Linked DNA regions of Homo sapiens: all the other regions are linked to region 1. The links are contacts of gene promoters, found by promoter capture Hi-C in human tissues and cell types (Jung and others, 2019). All regions are on one chromosome and are shown on one strand. The core of a region is centred on a gene start or on the middle of the fragment in contact, and the rest is flanking DNA. Distances in the headings are between cores, read along the strand shown.

Region 1 (3,808 bases), core at 462-2,961:
GCTCCTTGGCCCCTGAGTACCCCACCACCCCCATTTCCAGCCTTCTTCCTTACAAACACGAAGGGTGGGAGGAACCAGAAAACAGGGGATCCCGCAGCCCTAGGCTAGTTCTGATCGCTTTCAGGTGTCTGCAGAGGCAAGTTGCTGGTTGTCACCTGTAAAATGGGGAGGATAAAAACACCTCCCAGATTTTGTTCTAGATCCTAGGGGGATGTGAGGCTCAAGGGAGATAAAGGACACTGGAGAGCACCCTAGAAATGACAGGATGAAGGCGATGGTGACAAATATCCGAGCGAAACGCTTGACAATGAGAACAGACAAGTGCAGGTCTCCAGGAGTGCCGCGAGCGCCCGCGGGTTCTGAGAGCGCTCAAAGCCGCCGAGTCAGGCTGCCCAGCCCGCCGGGCCTCGCCGCAGTGATCCTCATTCCCGAATCTGGCAGCGCTGTCAAAGGCTTGTATTAGGAGGTGAACGGCGGCCGCAGGCCCACTCCACGCGGTTGCTGAAACCGAGCTGGGCGCGCGCGGGGGCCGAATCTCGCCGCCTCCGCGCTCCTGTCGGGGCAGCTCCCGATCCCGGGCTGCGCGGCTTCGGTCCCCAAGACGGCCACTTCCAGCCCTAGGCCCCTTGGCCGCAGCGCTTCCCAAACCAAGAGAGATCCTTTCTCAACTCAGAGCTTTTCATTAGCAGTCGTTAATAATGGCCCTGAGTTGCCTTATCATCTCCTGGAAATGAGAAATAAATTTCTTCGGAGAACGTTTCCCTTTGTAAAGGACAGAGAGTTTTAAAGATACAGGTATGATGTAAGACACATAAATACCTAGGTAAGCATTAGCAGAAATTCTCTTTTCCTTATATTTAAGTATAATAAACATACAAGTGTAGCTCAATGAATTTTCACAAACTGACATTCTGTGTAACCAGCAGCCTAAGAAACTGCTTTACCAACGATCCCCTAGCTCGCCTCCAGTTATGCACGCCAATAACCACTAGCCTAACTTCTACCACATGCCCATTACTTCTGTAGTTTAAAACTTCTGATTCTTGAATGTAAACGTTTAACAATAAATCGCTTGAATTTAACTCAAATTTCAAATGTAAGATGAAGTCAGAGATGCAGCCTGAATCTAGGATCATAATTTGTCTTGTGCGGAGGGCGAGTAATTTCCTTGGGCAAGAAAATAACTGGAGGTGACAGTTGTTTGGGGCTGCAGTCGTCCGGGCCAGGAGCACAGGGCGGGAAGGAATGGCCCATCTCTTAGGGCTCTCTGCTTGTCACCTACCAGGTTGGTCAGAAACGTTCTCATCAAAGCAATGGTTCTCTTTTCTTTTCTCTTTGGGACAGAAGGAGTTTCTTGACCGCCCTCTTCCCTGCAAATGCATAAACAACCACTGCTCCTGTCTCCAAGCTCAGATTCCTACCAAGATAGCCTTTTCTCTTCCCCTCTCTTTTGTAAGTCTCTTGATTTCATTCTTTGAACCTGTGATTGGAGGTTAAAGTGCACCAGGTTGGAAGGAGGAAGCTCTTAACAATAAAGGTTTGAATATTTAGCTGTGTCAGGTCGCTGCCCTCTCACGAGCCTCCCTCCCCTTTATCTTTTAAAATGCAAATTATGTTTCGAGGGGTTGTGCGTAGAGTGCGCGCTGCGCCTCGACGTCTCCAACCATTGGTGTCTGTGTCATTACTAATAGAGTCTTGTAAACACTCGTTAATCACGGAAGGCCGCCGGCCTGGGGCTCCGCACGCCAGCCTGTGGCGGGTCTTCCCCGCCTCTGCAGCCTAGTGGGAAGGAGGTGGGAGGAAAGAAGGAAGAAAGGGAGGGAGGGAGGAGGCAGGCCAGAGGGAGGGACCGCCTCGGAGGCAGAAGAGCCGCGAGGAGCCAGCGGAGCACCGCGGGCTGGGGCGCAGCCACCCGCCGCTCCTCGAGTCCCCTCGCCCCTTTCCCTTCGTGCCCCCCGGCAGCCTCCAGCGTCGGTCCCCAGGCAGCATGGTGAGGTCTGCTCCCGGACCCTCGCCACCATGTACGTGAGCTACCTCCTGGACAAGGACGTGAGCATGTACCCTAGCTCCGTGCGCCACTCTGGCGGCCTCAACCTGGCGCCGCAGAACTTCGTCAGCCCCCCGCAGTACCCGGACTACGGCGGTTACCACGTGGCGGCCGCAGCTGCAGCGGCAGCGAACTTGGACAGCGCGCAGTCCCCGGGGCCATCCTGGCCGGCAGCGTATGGCGCCCCACTCCGGGAGGACTGGAATGGCTACGCGCCCGGAGGCGCCGCGGCCGCCGCCAACGCCGTGGCTCACGGCCTCAACGGTGGCTCCCCGGCCGCAGCCATGGGCTACAGCAGCCCCGCAGACTACCATCCGCACCACCACCCGCATCACCACCCGCACCACCCGGCCGCCGCGCCTTCCTGCGCTTCTGGGCTGCTGCAAACGCTCAACCCCGGCCCTCCTGGGCCCGCCGCCACCGCTGCCGCCGAGCAGCTGTCTCCCGGCGGCCAGCGGCGGAACCTGTGCGAGTGGATGCGGAAGCCGGCGCAGCAGTCCCTCGGCAGCCAAGGTAAGCAGAGGCTGCGCCCCTTCGGAGGGTGCTTGGGAAGGCGCGGGTCGAGCCAGTGGCTGCTGCGCGTCGCGCGTCCAGTGCGCACAGGGGCGTCCCGGGCTGTCTGGGAGCTCGGCGCCAGGAGGGGCACGGCCCGGAGACAAATTCGGGGGCCTCTGGCCCGTCGGGGCTTCTCTGACCTACTGAGCCTGGGAGTGAATATTCTGAGTCTCAACACCGTGTTCAGGCGTCCTCTTTCCAAGAGCTCCTCATTCGCAACCCCGGGACACCTTCGGGAAGCTCCGGGGAATGTCGGCGTGAGCACTGCTGGACGCCGGCAGAATCGCGTCCTCCGGCACTTGCTGCGGCATGCATTCCTTGCGTGGCTCCTGGCCGCCGAGGAGAGAGGGAGGCTCGAACCTTCTTGGGCTAGGTCTAGGCCATTTATCTCCGCTCTCTCTTTCCCCATCTGAGCCATCTAAGAAGAGAAGTGACCTGGGGGGGTCGGAGGATGGCTAGGCTGTGTGTGGGACCGGGTTTGGCCACTCGGGCCAATTCAAGGTACAGCGAGCAGGCAGACCAGGGAGAGCTGCTGTCGCTGGGAAGAAGGTGCTAGCCCCAGCTGCTAAGGCGACGGGGGCGCGCCCCGTCTCTGAACCTCTGACCTGTGAAGGGGTCATTTCAAGCAAAAGCTGGAAGGCTAGGGGCAAGAAGCCTAGGGGCAGGCGTCTGCGGAGAGAGCAGGGAGACGGGGAGGAAACCCTGGTGGGAATTAAGCCGCCGCTCCAGGTAGGGGTCATTTCTCCCAAAGCTTCCTTTCAAGGGTGTCAGGGATGTCTGTGAGTGTGTGTGTGCAACTGAAAAAGATCCTAGGTTTGCCGGACTGTGGGGCTCATTGACTCTGGGTCTGCCCCTTCTGGTGTTCGAGTGTGCCTAGAGGTGGCAAGGAAGTGCGGTGGGGAGAGTCCTAGTTGAGTGCCCCTTTTAAAGTCTTTCCCCAGCCCTCAGCGCTTCCGCTTTTCTTGCTTCGCTCCTTGATGCCCCAATTGGGCAGGCACGCTGGTTATGGGCACTTTGCAGAAGTTTATAGCCAATTACAACTGTATAAATCAAAGCGCCCTTTGGGGGCTGTCTCTGGGCATCGGTTTCTGCGTCACTGTGCACATGCTAGGGAGAGTCCTGGTGGGAATGCCGCCGACCGGGGAGAAGGCCACAGATCAGCCTCGGGTGAGCCTCAGAGCTTTGGCTTGGTCCCTTCTCCTAGAG
Region 2 (3,808 bases), core at 498-2,997, 720 kb after region 1:
ATTTAACTATCAGAAATCTCAAGCCACTTCACATTTCTGATTATTTACTACGAACGTATATAGGGTAGAAGAGAGGGGAACCCAGGCTTTATAATCATTGACCTAAATTTGACATAGGCTCTGCCACTTACTAGCTGGGACACCCACATTTCATCTCTCATCTTCATTTGTAAAATAGGGGTGAACACTTTCGTAGCTGAGGTAATGTCTACAAAGAACTCAGCAATGCTTGGCCCGTGTAAAGTGCTCAGTAGTAACCGGCAGCTAATTTATCATTATCTAAGAATTCACCTACAGGCATTTAGAAATTAACCTTTCCTTTGTTTCCCAAAAAGGCCAAAACAATAGTTTTGATAGCTCTTTAGTCATTATAGGGCAGAAATGCCATTCCTGGCCATTACTCCTACCATAAGGTAAAATACAGCAGTCAGGCTTGACGTGTTGACAATATTCTAACACAATTTGGTTTCTAAGTTTACCAACAATCCTTTAAGAATGGCTCCCAAAGTACCATTTTTATAAAAATTGTATAGCAAGAAGACATGTTTCACCTAACTCACCAAAGTCAAACCATTGTTACAATGGATGAACCCTTTAAATGCCAGGTACTCTGTTCCAATCCCCAAAGCCTTTAGATGTGTATAAAGTTCCAAAAACTTGTGCTAAGTTAGTACACAAAGGGTGATACTGTGTAGATTCAAGTCACTTTGTGGAATCACCAAGTGGCATAATCAGTTAACTCATTCCTGATTCCAGAGCCCATAATCCTCCACTAGATCCATCTTTCTGAGTTTGGAATCCATTTTAAGCATGGACCCCATACACTTAAAACTGAAGGCACTTTTCAAAACGATGCTTTACAGTTTGTAAGAGTATTAAAATCATGGCAACTAGGATCCACCATAAAGAGCAACCTGCAGTTTGCTCGACTCTGTTGACGTCCACAAACTAGACAAAATGATGAACTATGGCTAAATGTTTCCCTTCACTCAAAGCATGCTGCCCTAGAATTCGCAAAACAGTATCTCCTCTTGGTGCAAATATTGGTGTTGCAACCTCAAAACACTTTCCCTTCGTCCGATCACCATGTGGGGTCAAAATTTTAAAAACAGTCGGAAATCGTCTTATGCATTAACTAAGGGCAGTGAGGGTTCATCACCCAGGACGACTCCGGGACCCACTCTCCGACCGAGAGCCCGGGTTTTCACACCTGTAGGCTTCACAGAAGATTAAAGCCGACGCCTGACTTTAAACCCATTCCTACTACCCCTTAAGTCCTCACCCAACATCATCGCAAGATTTGGAATAAAAAAGCCACACTGAAAGGAGTTAGAAAGGCATCAGGCCACGCGGCCCCCACACAGCCTATGTGAGAGGGGCCACCCACAGTACCGGAGATGCAGCCACGGGAACATAAAACGAAGTCTTTTAAAGATTAACTCGAGTCGCCTCACCCCAAGCGACTCAGTCTCGTCTTTCTCGCAAATGTCCCCCCGCAGGGCCGCAACATCGCAGTCCGGTTCTCAGCCCACGGCCCAGACCCGACCCGGCGCACGCTGCTCCCCGTCTGGCAGAACATGGTTTAACCCGCCCATGCCAATGGACCTCAAACAGGTTAGAGAGTCTCCCCACGGTCCCAATGAACGACCTCTGAGGCCACAAGGTCGCGGTTCAAGTCTGTCGAACACCTAGCGCCCGGGAGCCACGCGTAGGCCCTACCTGGAAGATGGCGGTTCCGGCCGAAAGGAAAGAGGCGGGGCCGCGGCGCGCGCCTTACAAGGGCCTGTGGGCTGCCCACGGCGCTGCCTGAGGGAAACGCCAACCGTAAGCGACTTCTTTCTAGGGAAGAAGATCGTCTCTGAGAACACAGAAAGTCTGTGAGGATATTTTCCCCTCTTGCGAAAGAAAGGCAACCGGCCAACACAAGCTGACACTTGCATCGTGTCAGACAGCCCGGAAAGGGGCCTTCAAGGGCGATCAAGAGGACGCCGTCGTCCCGAGCGTGCTTACGCCATCCTTTGCGTCACCGCCTTCGCCGGAAGCTGCCTTGTATCCGCGTCTCCGCAGGGAAAACTGCGGCTGGCGGTGCGGGAAGTGCTATTAGTAGTTGTTTATTTGTTTGTTTGCAGAAATAATTGCTTGGGTACGAAGGTCAAACGAGAATGAAGCAAGTATATTATCTAGTTTGTATGTCTTTAAATAGTTTCTCCTCCACACGTCTAAACATACGCACCTGCTAGTAGGTGCGCAAATGTTAAAACCTCTTTGGGAAAGCAATGTGGCAAAATCTAGTAAAAGTTTTCAATTACTAAACCCCAGCACTCTGCTCCTACCTATATGTCTTGTAGAAACTTTGGTAAGTGAACAAGGATGTACGTAACAGCGCTGTGGGTAGAAGCAAAAAATTAGAAACGTCCATCAATAACAGAATAAATACCTTATGGGATGTTAGGATGTAGTATTATACGCCAATAAAAGAAGACTGAACTCAGAAATGTGATGAGGCAAAAAGAGAAAGATGTAGAAAAATAAATAGTATGACAATTCATATACATTCAACTCTAAAACTTGTAAAACAATGCTATATATTGCTTAGTTATGCATACATATGTAGTTAAAGAAGTCAAGAAATACAAGAGAATGAAAATCAAGTTGAGAAAAGCAGTCATATCTGGTAAGGAGGGGACAATAAAGGGAGGCTTTAACTGTATTGACCATTATTAAACCGGGTGTTAAATATATGGGTGGCCATTGTTTTATTCACTACACCTTTAAAAATAGATATTATTTTCTTAATGTAGTTTATTTAAATTGAGATAATGCCATATACCCAGCATCCAGTTTCCCCTATTATTAACATCTCATGCTAATATGGTACATTTGTTGCAATTAATGAACCAATATTTTACACTGTTATTAACTAAGGTTCACATTTTATTCAGATTTCCTTCGGTTTTACCTAATACCCTTTTTCTGTTCCAGGATTCCATCCAGAATACCACATTACATTTAGTTATGATGTCTCCTTATATGCCTCTTGTGGCTGTGGCAGTTTCTCAAACTTTCCTTACTTTTGGTGACCTTGAGAGTTTTGAGGAGTACTGGTCATGTATTTTGTAGGATGTCCTAATCATGGAATTTGTCTCATGTTTTTCTCATGATTGTATGTATTTTTAGGATGCATTTTTAAAAAGTCAGCTAAGTTAACAAAATCCCTTATCAGACTGAATATAAATAATATCGTCCAGTCGCTTTTGAAATTTGCATGTCTTCGACTCACTCTCCTGATGCACCTGAAAGTTGTAATTTCTAAGAACTGCGTCAGCACCATTTTTTAAATGTGTACATTCTGTGACCATCGTCATCAGCACTTAACATCATTTGCTGAAGAACTTGAGGAGGAATAGGATTTGGTATTGATTCCTTCAATACGTTGACTCCTCCAGACTTTCACTGTAACCATTAGCCCTTGGCTTCTAGATTGTCTTTAACTTAATTTTCTGTAGTTCATTATTACAGTCACTCTGTTAGCACTCACTTCCTCAGGTCACTTTTCCTTTCCCATTACTTTCTTTCTTTCTTTGAGAGGGAATTTTGTTCTTGTTGCCCAGGCTGGAGTGCAGTGGCGCGACATCGACTCACCACAACCTCTGCCTCCCGGGTTCAAGCGATTCTCTTGCCTCAGGCTCACGAGGAGTAGCTGGGATTACAGGCGCCCGCCACCACACCTGGCTGATTTTTTTGTTTTTAGTAGCGACGAGGTTTCACCATGTTGGCCAGGCTGGTCTCCAACTCCTGACCTCAGGTG
Region 3 (3,808 bases), core at 541-3,040, 520 kb after region 1:
GATATAGGCTTGAAACGAATAAAGGGAATATTTTTTAAAATTATGTACAAAGCCAGAATGTCAATGTATTAAATTACAGTGAAATTTAGAACTTACACAGACTAGAATAGTTACATTGGCATTACCAGTGAACCATTCCTCCCTCTAGGCTATTGATTTGTTCTTTAAAAATGTATTAATTATTGAACACCCGTATAACCATAACCTAGATTTAGCAAATGCTGCCGTAAGTGCATTGTTTATATTTTCTGCTGTATGGTTTCAAAGCAAGTGATAGATGTCATGACACTATCCTAAATACTTCAGCATTTGTTTCTTAAGAATTCCATTTTCACACCTAAGAAAATTAACAGGCGGGTGCCGTGGCTCACGCCCGTAATCCCAACACTTCAGGAGGCCAAGGCAGGTGGATCATTTGAGGTCAGGAGATCGAGACCAGCCTGGCCAACATGGTAAAACCCCATCTCTACTAAAAATACAAAAATTAGCCAGGCGGTAGTGGTGCACACCTGTAATCCCGGCTACTTGGGAGGCTGAAGCAGGAGAATCACTTGAACCTGGGAGGCGGAGGTTGCAGTGAGCCGAGATTGCCCCACTGCACTCCAGTCTGGGTGACAGAGTGAGAACCTGTCTCAAAAAAAAAAGAAAAAAGAAAATTAACAATACGTCTCTAATAGTATCTAATACCTAGTCCCTATTCAGATTTTCCCCTCATTCCCAACATTTCTTTTCAGCAAAATTATGTCTCCTTGATTTTTTTTTTCACTCAAGAATAGCTTCCCTCTTCCCTTTTCATTCCCAATGGCATTGGCTTTTTTAGACACTAACCAGGTGTCTTGTTCCATCTGGATTTGTCAGATTGTTTCCTTGTGGCATCTTCTATTGTTTCTCTGAGTCTGGCCCTTGTATCCCCTGGAAACTGGAAGCTAGACCCTGCATCAGGTTCAGGTCAAACCTTTTTGGCAAAGCTGCTTAATAGAAGGTGCCATGCACTTTGGGTAGCTTCCCATCCAGAGATGTGGCAAGGATGGCAGGTTGTTCCACTGTTGGAGATGCTGAGTCTGACGTTGGCTTAGGATGACAGACAGCTGTCTACCCTCAGCAGAGTGTGCTTTTCCCTCTCAGTCTGAAAGTAATCTGTTTGTGACCCTTTGGCATCAGCTCTCTTGCATCCTGCCTGAATCAGTAGTTTCGTTGGGGTTGGAAAAATGGTGATTTTCTTTTTTTTTTTTTGAAACAGGGTCTTGCTCTGTTGTCCAGACTGGAGTGCAGTGGTGTGATCAGAGCTCACTGCAGCCTCAACCTCCTGGGCTCAAGTGAACCTCCTTCCTCAGCCTCCCCAGTAGCTGGGAGTACAGTTGCGTGTCAACACACCTGGCTAATTTATTTTTTGTAGAGACTGGGTCTTGCTGTGTGTCCCGGGCTGGTCTCAAACTCCTGGCCTTAAGTGATCCTCTCGCCTTGGCCTCCCAAAGTGCTGGGATTACAGGTGTGAGACATCGTGCGTGGCATGATTTTCTAATTACTTTTACTTTTCTTTTGTGTTTATTAGCTGTCATTCTTCTCTACAGAAGAGCTTCTCCTCATCAACTGGGGATGATTACAGTTCTTCCTAAAAAAGGTAGGATAAATGCTCAGTTCTTTTTATTTAATTAGCAATTTTCAAAGTAAAAAATCAATATAATAGTCCCATGCAGTTGTGGCAAATTATCATTTTCATAGATTTTTGTATATTCAGTATATTGAAATGAATGACAGTGATTATGCCTTACTGTTTAAATTACACCAAAATTGACCAGTGGGAGTCTCTTCATGCTGCCAAACTGTAAATGACATGTAAACAAACAAAATCATAATACCATCATGGAAATCTGAAAGCTAAATATTTGATGAAATAAAGGAACGTTTTTTAATTGGGATAATATTGTGAATACTAAAAAGATTAAGGAGTACCTCTTAGAGATACATACTATTTCCTGAAAAAGTAGGATTTACTTTGAAAGCATTCCTGGATGGTTGGGGGGAGATAGTTGAGGGGTAAAGATGAAACCCAGCTGCTGTTTATTATCCAGTTCTTTCTGTACAAGGTTAAAAAGTTCCCTAATAAAAAGTTTTTAAATTATGAATTTATGTTGATAGCTGCAATTTAAATGTAATATTACAGGTTGTTTTAACTTTGTATTTATATTTTTATCTATAAGGGCCTGTTTTGAAGAAACGTATATTTTCAATTTTGCTGATTTAAAGCCAGTATTGAGTTAGTATTAAAGCTTAATTGCAATGAATTGCATTGTTTGCTGTATACATCAATAAAAATTGAAGTTTCTTAAAAATTTAAACTAGTGGCAAAGAACTTTAAAAGTTATATACTTCCAGTGTTTTTCTTTTTTTTTTCGTTTTTTTTGAGACAGAGTCTCGCTCTGTCGCCCAGGCTGGAGTGCAGTGGCGCAATCTCGCTCACTGCTAGCTCCGCCTCCCGGGTTCACGCCATTCTCCTGCCTCAGCCTCCCGAGTAGCCGGGACTACAGGCGCCCGCCACCACGCCCAGCTAATTTTTATTTTATTTTTTAGTAGAGACAGGGTTTCACTGTGTTAGCCAGGATGGTCTCGATCTCCTGACCTTGTGATCCGCCCACCTCAGCCTCCCAAAGTGCTGGGGTTACAGGCGTGAGCCACTGCACCCGGCCCTACTTCCAGTGTTTTTCTATTCTTTCCCTTTCCTTTGTTTCCTTCTTGGAAAGTGTTTTTAAAGCTTTTTTAAAAAACCTACGTCATTTTTCTGAAATAGTCTTTATTTTGTAAATAAAATTTATTTTCAAGTATAAAAATAACACTTATAAAAAAACTTGAGAAATACTGGCAATTAGGAAAAATAGGGGAATGAATTGCTTTTGTCTTCAACATTTTTATAAATTTTTTTCATCTTTTCCTATATCTAGTTATTTTGTTTGCTTGTTTGAAAAAAATCAAATTTTGAAATTTTTTATATTTTAATATGTTGATAATTTATTAAACAAGGCACTTTAGCTCTTATTCATAACTACTAAGGGAAAAAGATAGCCAGTACTGAGTTAGTATTAAAGCTTAATTGCAGTGAACTGTTTTGTCTACTGTATATATCAAGAATATTAGAATTTATATCTATCTATTTAGTAACATGATTTTACATGTGATAACTTCTACATCATTGTCGCTAATACAGACTTTGGAAAGAAACAACACTGATTTTAGACATAAAGTTTATAGAGCAGGCTTGTGAGCAGGAACTTAAGAGTCCCCTAGCAGAATACCTAGTGACATTTGGGACTGGATGCTGCTGCTAGTTTTCTGATAAGTGAAAAAAAAATCTTCTGTGATCTTTTCAGATTTTTCTTCTTTTTTGGTTTGGGGGCTTCCTCCATTCACAAAAGATCTGACTTTTTATTAAACAGTATGTCAGTGATTTAAAATCACTTTGCTCCCACCTTAGAGCCTTTACAGCATCTACAGCTGGAGCCACCAGCTGGGTAATAACCATAAATCAATGCATGTCATACACTGTGGATGGAGCATCTGGCCACAGATACTCACCATTACTGACGGGCATCTGAAATGCCAGCTAGAAATGTGAAGGGTGTAGTTTGTAGGCATTCGTGACACATCCGAAGGTGTAGAGGTTAAATGCCAGCAGCCCTGCCATAGCTCCTTGGCTGTTTCCTTCGGCCCGTGCATTCATTCGACATGTGCATGCTGAGCCAGGCTCTGAGCTGTAGTGCCGGGGAACACAGCAGTGAACAAAATGGACAAAGTCCATGTTCTCATGAAGCTT

What was found. The method cuts DNA at HindIII sites, captures the fragments that hold promoters and counts their contacts. A contact is called where the count stands out against the background at its distance.
Region 2: a contact is called between the fragment with the promoter of RPL21 here and the fragment with the promoter of CDX2 in region 1, in 1 of the 25 tissues and cell types used here (mesenchymal stem cells).
Region 3: a fragment that was not itself captured here is called in contact with the fragment with the promoter of CDX2 in region 1 in 1 of the 25 tissues and cell types used here (H1 embryonic stem cells).

What each region holds. Positions count from the first base shown.
Region 1 is chr13:27,967,218-27,971,025 of GRCh38, reverse strand. It overlaps CDX2 (caudal type homeobox 2), which reads left to right and starts at 1,711. Exons shown (of 3, transcript NM_001265.6): 1 at 1,711-2,560. The coding sequence starts at 2,020. RefSeq lists an enhancer at 1,785-2,476. The HindIII fragment of the contact is 6,465 bases long and covers 1-3,808 here.
Region 2 is chr13:27,249,497-27,253,304 of GRCh38, reverse strand. RPL21 (ribosomal protein L21) reads right to left here and starts at 1,747. Exons shown (of 6, transcript NM_000982.4): 1 at 1,720-1,747. RefSeq lists enhancers at 1,254-1,839, 1,493-2,032, 1,840-2,425, 1,244-2,443. The HindIII fragment of the contact is 12,000 bases long and covers 1-3,808 here.
Region 3 is chr13:27,442,901-27,446,708 of GRCh38, reverse strand. It overlaps MTIF3 (mitochondrial translational initiation factor 3), which reads left to right. Exons shown (of 5, transcript NM_152912.5): 2 at 1,553-1,621. Among named protein-coding and RNA genes, the nearest start is that of MTIF3, 5.8 kb to the left of the region's middle. The HindIII fragment of the contact is 3,309 bases long and covers 136-3,444 here.